Linked DNA regions of Homo sapiens: region 1 is linked to region 2. Evidence: promoter capture Hi-C in human tissues and cell types (Jung and others, 2019). All regions are on one chromosome and are shown on one strand. Each heading gives the region's core, a stretch centred on a gene start or on the middle of the fragment in contact. The rest is flanking DNA. Distances are from core to core; before and after follow the strand shown. Region 1 has its middle 100 kb from the start of ROCR. Region 2 holds the start of SOX9 (SRY-box transcription factor 9).

Evidence for each region. The method cuts DNA at HindIII sites, captures the fragments that hold promoters and counts their contacts. A contact is called where the count stands out against the background at its distance.
Region 1: a fragment that was not itself captured here is called in contact with the fragment with the promoter of SOX9 in region 2 in 2 of the 25 tissues and cell types used here (dorsolateral prefrontal cortex and lymphoblastoid cells).

The regions. Positions count from the first base shown.
Region 1 is chr17:71,921,816-71,925,200 of GRCh38, reverse strand. No RefSeq gene overlaps it. Among named protein-coding and RNA genes, the nearest start is that of ROCR, 100 kb to the left of the region's middle. RefSeq lists a silencer at 3,220-3,349. The HindIII fragment of the contact is 4,555 bases long and covers 1-3,385 here.
Region 2 is chr17:72,119,474-72,122,521 of GRCh38, reverse strand. It overlaps SOX9 (SRY-box transcription factor 9), which reads right to left and starts at 1,502. Exons shown (of 3, transcript NM_000346.4): 1 at 700-1,502. The coding sequence starts at 1,130. It also overlaps a transcript of SOX9-AS1 not described here. RefSeq lists silencers at 517-616, 1,527-1,856, promoters at 1,470-1,615, 1,470-2,237 and an enhancer at 2,339-2,839. The HindIII fragment of the contact is 7,134 bases long and covers 1-3,048 here.

The DNA of each region.
Region 1 (3,385 bases), core at 565-3,064, 200 kb after region 2:
CTGGCCCTCCTGCCCTTCAGCGATCTGGGCACCCTGTGCCCTTCTGTTCTTATACATGTCGGGCTCTCCTACTCCCCTGAGCCTGGGTACCTGTTATTGCTTTGGCAGAAGAACTCCCCTCTACTGCCTCCACCTGCAGCAAACTTCATTTATTTCTCTTATTTGACTATCAGGTCATACATCATGGTTATTTCCTCCAGGAAGCCTCCACCCCACAGCCTCAGTAGTTCCCCTTTGATCAAACAACACCCCCGCCCCTACTTTTCTTTCTTTCTCTCTCTCTTTCTTCCTTTCCTTTCCTTTCCTTTCCTTTCCTTTCCTTTCCTTTCCTTTCCTTTCCTTTCCTTCCTCCCTCCCTTTCTTTCTTTCTTTCTTTTTTTTTTTTTTCCCCAAGTCTCACCCTGTCGCCCAGGCTGGAGTGCAGTGGTGCGATCTCGGCTCACTGCAAGCTCTGCCTCCTGGGTTCTCACCATTCTCCTGCCTCAGCCTCCCGAGTAGCTGGGACTATAGGCGCCCGCCACCATGCTCGCCTAATGTTTCGTATTTTTAGTAGAAACAGGGTTTCACTGTGTTAGCCAGGATGGTCTCGATCTCCTGACCTCGTGATCCGCCCGCCTCTGCCTCCCAAAGTGCTGGGATTACAGGCGTGAGCCACCGCATGCAACATCTCTCTCTTTTCTTTTCTTTTCCTTTTATTTTCTTTTCTCTTTTCTATTCTTTTCTTTTCTTTACTTTTCTTTTCTTTTCTTTCCTTCCTTCCTCCCTCCCTCCTTTCCCTCTTCCCCTTCCCCTTCTCCTTCCTTCCTCTCTCTCTCTTTCTTTCCTTCTTTCTTTGTTTTTCTTTCTCTCTCTCTCTCCTTTCCTTTTTAATTTTTTTGAGACAGTGTCTCACTCTATCCACCAGGCTGGAACTGGAGTGCAGTGGCCCAATCTGGGCTTACTGCAACCTCCGCCTCCCAGGTTCAAGCAATTCTCCTGCCCCAGCCTCCCGAGTAGCTGGGATTACAGGCACGTGCCACCAGGCCCAGCTAACTTTTGTACTTTTAGTAGAGACAGGGTTTCACCATGTTGGCCAGGCTGGTCTCGAACTGCTGACCTCAGGTGATTTGCCTGCCTCGGCCTCCCAAAGTGCTGTGATTACAGGCGTGAGCCACCCCGCCTGGCCCTCCCCTCCTTTTCTAAAAGACAGCCAAGCACTATGACTAAGAGATGAAGCTTGAAGCTAAGATGCCTGGATGAACAACACGGTCTCTTCATGTGCTAGTTTCAGGACTTTGGGGAAAACTCCAGTCTTCTCATATAGAGGAGTACAACAGGGTAATAAGAGTACCTTTCAGTAGGATCGTCATGAAGTTCAAATACATAAACATACATAAAATGCTTAGAACAAAACTTGAAACTTGGCATGTAGCACAAAAACTGCTTACTATCATTACTTGTACAAACCATCCTTACACAACCTATTCTATTACAAGCTACCAGAACATAGTCCATTTTATTCATTATTTTATCCCTAATGCCTACAGCCATGCTAGGTATATAATAAATATTCAATAAACATTTGTTAAACTAACGTCTTGGTGTATTAGCTCTACATCATCTCTGCTCCCATTTAAGGCAATGTTTTATTTATTTAACAGATGATTTCTTCATTTAACAATCCTGGTAAAATGCCATTTTGTATTCTTGGTAACTTGTCTATTCTGTACATTGAAGTCGAGTTGGAGACTTTTTTTTTTCTTTCTTATTGCTCTTCTGGATTGCAGCTTTTAAAATTCAAAGCTGCCTAATGGGCTGTTTAGGAGGTAGTGAGACCTCTATCACTAGAGACATTTAAACACCTGATAAGGGGTTGGACTGGATGACCGTTTCCAAGTCTGCAATTTGTGATTCTATATCCTGTGTTCTTAGAGCACTTAATAAGGGCAGTTAAATGAAACATTTAGTTTAAACAGTTATCCACTTATAGCCTATATTAGGCTAAATGCATTTTGCATATGTTTAAGATGACTCTTACTATGGTAAATAAAACCTTAGCATTTTCCTGATGCTCACAGGAGATTTTGTGACAGCAGGTACTGGAAATGCATTTAAGCTCACTCGGCAATTGTTTGGTGCTATACCACGTATTTTACCAGTCATTTAACTTGATCAATTTTTAATAATACAAATATACTGTAGAAAGTGACACTGCAATTTAGACAAGGGCACATAATATTTTACAAACCTCAAATCTGGAAAAGATAAGGTACCTTTTTCCCCTTGCTACCCACAGATACAAAAATAAACGCTTTAGCAAGGATTCCGGCAAGGAATCAGGAAGCCTGAGTCCTAGTCTTGGTTCTTCTATAGGTAAGAAGGACTGAGGGCTTTACATTTTGCTCTGTGTATGGAAATTCAAGGTGCAAAATAGTAGTATAATTTAACAGACACCAGGAGCTGGGCCCCTCTTGCACAATGCCATTCATAGTAAACCTATGAGGCATCAAGGGGCTATTAAAATAGTTCCCAACCCAGCACAGAGACCCAGAGCTGGAAGGAACATTCTGACTATGCAGATGAGTTCAGAGCCTGGGAGAAAACAGGATGTGGGCTCCTGAGAATTGCAATAAAGACTGAAAGCATGTGCCTCCAGCTTCAGGGCTTCTGGGTGAATTTCTGCTTCAGTCACCTGATATCCCTTCACCATGACATAAGCAAAGAGAATTCTTCCCACCTGATGGCAGAAACTCACTGATAGTTACTCCATGGCTTTATGGTAGCTGCCTCATGTTGACTTCCAGTTCAGAAAGCCTCTGTCTACTCTCTCTTGTTGATTCTGTTTTCTCAGTGGAATCCTGTATCCCATTTACCTGGAGAAAAAAAAAAAAAGGTACTTTCAAACAAGATAAAAATTAAAACTCCAATGAATCAATCAACCCTCACTCCTTTGCTCACTCAGATTGTCTTTTATGTCACTTTTGTGAGATTTTGAGTGTGCAATGGAAAATAAGGTTTTTGTAACAAGTTCAGACCTTTGCTGATATCTTTCCCCTTTCTACCTTACCTAAATTAGGTCCTTCCACTTTATGATGTCACGATACCCAGCACTTGCCCTTCACAGTACTTGACACATTTGGATGACTATTTCCTGAATGACTTTCTCACTCTCTAGATGAAAAATCTGTAAAACCAATGATCATGCCTCTCTTGTTTACCAGCTTTTATTCGCCCAGCAGCCAGCATAGTGCTTAGAACAGTAGGCACCCAGGAAGTATGTGGTTCAGACACTTATTCTGGCTTGTGTTTTATTTCAGCATACAGCAGTGTTGGGTTAGGTGGGGTTGGTGTAGTCATCTGGTGATGTGGTTTACTTAAGCAGTCAATGAGAATGTTCTGATCAAGA
Region 2 (3,048 bases), core at 253-2,752:
GTCTGACCTGAGCGGTCACTCCCCGCCCCCTCCCTCCCCTCCCCTTCTATTTCTATTTTGGAAACGCTGGAGATGAAAACGACTCCCGGTGCTGCCCCCTAAACGCCTTTGCTGCTCGACTTACCGCCCCCAACCCCAACCCCCTTTGAAAACTTTCCCCCAAATTACTTAAGCTGCAAGAAGGTCCCCAATTCTCACCCCCCACCATACACTCCCACCTATTTCCAGTAGCCTCCCTCCTCCCGCCTCCCAGTTCCTGCCAAGGGTCTCCTCCAACCTCGGTTTCTCCCTTGCCCCATCTCCGTGGACAGTGGGGCTGCACGAGAGAGTGCAGTTTTAAGAGGCCGGGTAGGAGGGAGGCAAGTTTCACTTCCCCGCCCCGATTGAGCTTCCAGGCGACTGGAGAGCAGGCTGGCAGCCCCCTCCTTCCGTCTCCCACCAGTCTTCGTCCATCCTCCAGCTACCTCCCTCACCTCTTCCACTTACCACCCCCCTCCTCCGCGTCCCCGCGAGCAGCCCAAGAACTTTGTCAAACTCTGAGCCACAGTTACACCCCATTCCCACTCCCAACCCCATCCCGCCGGCTCCCGGAACGGCAACTCCCGGGCGATGGGAGGCGGGGCGGGGCAAATCAGCCCTGACCAGCGCCCCCAGCCGCCGCGATGCCCACCCTGCCGCGCCGCCCCCGCCGGGTCCTACCTCCAGAGCTTGCCCAGCGTCTTGCTGAGCTCGGCGTTGTGCAAGTGCGGGTACTGGTCCGCGAGCTTCCTGCGCGCCGCCTGCGCCCACACCATGAAGGCGTTCATGGGCCGCTTGACGTGCGGCTTGTTCTTGCTGGAGCCGTTGACGCGCACCGGCATGGGCACCAGCGTCCAGTCGTAGCCTTTGAGCACCTGGCTGACCGCCTCGCGGATGCACACGGGGAACTTGTCCTCCTCGCTCTCCTTCTTCAGATCGGGCTCGCCCTTGGGGAACGTGTTCTCCTGGGGCCGCGTGTTCTCGGTGTCCGAGCCGGAGCCCGACGGGCAGGGCGAGCCCGCGGAGTCCTCGGACATGGTGGGGCTGGGGGCGCCGGACAGGCCCTTCTCCTGCTCGTCGGTCATCTTCATGAAGGGGTCCAGGAGATTCATACGCGGGCCCGGGGCAGGGGGCTGGTGGCCGGGAAAGGCGAGAAGCCGCGGCGGCTCGGGGACTCGAGGCGCGGGCTCCTCTCCCCTCGGCTGCCCGGATGCGGAGCAAGCGGCTCCCGGGGAAGCTGGCGCGTCGGCCGGCTACCGCGGCGAGCACTTAGGAAGGCGCGGGGTGGCCAGTTCACAGCTGCCCGCTCCAAGTGGGGGGAGGCGAATTGGAGAGGAGGAGGAGGGGAGGAAAAAGAGCAAAAGTGGGGGCGCTTGCACCCCTTCTCTTCTCCTCCTGCAAAGAAAAGTTTCCGGGGTTGAAACTGGCGAGTCTCCGCGCCACTGAAGTTTCCAGTCAGTTTCGAGCTCCGCTTTCGGCTCTCCAACTCCCAGCCCAGGGTCTCTTTAATAAATACTCCGCCTCACCTTAGAGCCACCCGCCAATCACAGCACAGCAGTCCCAGGGTTGGCAGGCAGCTGATTGGACCCGATTTTGGGGAGGGAGGAGGATTGTGGCACTGGGCTGGGTGACGAGGCGGGAGGGGAGGAGAGGGGAGGGGATCGCAGCCAAAGGGCGGACGGTAGGGTGGGGGGGCGGGGGGTGCTGCGGGGAAGGCGGGGGACCCGGGACTTCCAAGTGTGTAAGTTTGTCGTACTCTCGGAATGCCAGAATTTTAGTGCCTTCTCCGCGCGAATCTTGTGTGTGTGTGTGTGTGTGTGCGCGCAAGTGTGTGTGTCTAGACTAGGATCTACCCCCACCTCCGACATTTCTTTTCACTGCTCTCTCCGCGGCACCGGGGACTTAGCTGGAGTTTGCAGTATTCGAAAAGCAGCCGCTTCTTAATGCGTAGCCGAGTTTACGCGCCTGGAGCGAGCCTGCCTGCCTGCAAAAGTGCTTAGAAATAGTCTTTTGAAGCAAATGTTTTGGTGACTCAACGCCCGCTGTTCCTCCGTAATAATCCATATAAATAGATTAACATGCTCGGGTTCGCCGGGGCTGGTGCGGCTGGTCAGGATTCTGCTGCGCTTTTGCAAAGGGAGTCAATGGAAAGCAAAGCTAAGTCCCCGCGAAGGTTGGCAGCGGCGGCCGTGGCCACGCAGGAGCCCGGCGCTCTCGAGGCCGCCCCGCGCCACATCGACCTTGAGCTCTGACAAGTCATTCTCCAGCCCCCTCTACCCGCGACCCTGCCGACGCTCCTCAGTAACAGGGCTACTGCTCTGACGTTTTGGTCTTTGCCTCCTGGCCGGGTCAAAAACGTCAGCCGAGTCGCCCTGTCTGGGGGAGAGTTTGCTAACTGCTCTGGCTTTGAGAGATAGAAGTTTGCCAATGCGGCTGTCCCGGGCCGCGAGGCCCAGGCCGGTCACTTGGTTTGTAAAAGACCAAACAAATGGGCACCACCGCAGACAAAACGCTCCACTCTGGCGGAGTCATGCTGCTTGCCTGCTTTTGCTGGCATTTACGAAACACCTGAAGGGGTGAAGCGCCGGTGCTTCTGACTCTAGTCCGGTCGGTTCAGACCTGCATGTAGTTGGGAGTTCTGGGGGAGGCATTGGTGGTGTCTCTCATGTATTTCAAGTGTGATTTGAGCACAACCTTTGTGTTTACACGAAATGCTTAGAGCCAGGTTGGGTAAGTGCGGAGCTATCTGCTCTGGGATAGAAGAAAAGTCTTGGTCGCTTGCGGGTTCTGTGCTTTCAGAATCCCAAATAAACGCACAGCATTGGGAAACTCTTAATTTTAAACTCCCCCCCCCCCCCCACCCTTTTGGGCTCTTGCAAAAATTCGCCTCAATTAAATTATTGTTGTGGTGAATCGGCCCACATCATAATAAAAACTAGTTTTTTTTTCCCTTTCTAATTTGCGAAGTGAGGACACTATCACAAGATCCAAATCAATGTCCTTCCGGGAGAATTTCTTAAAATCTTGTTT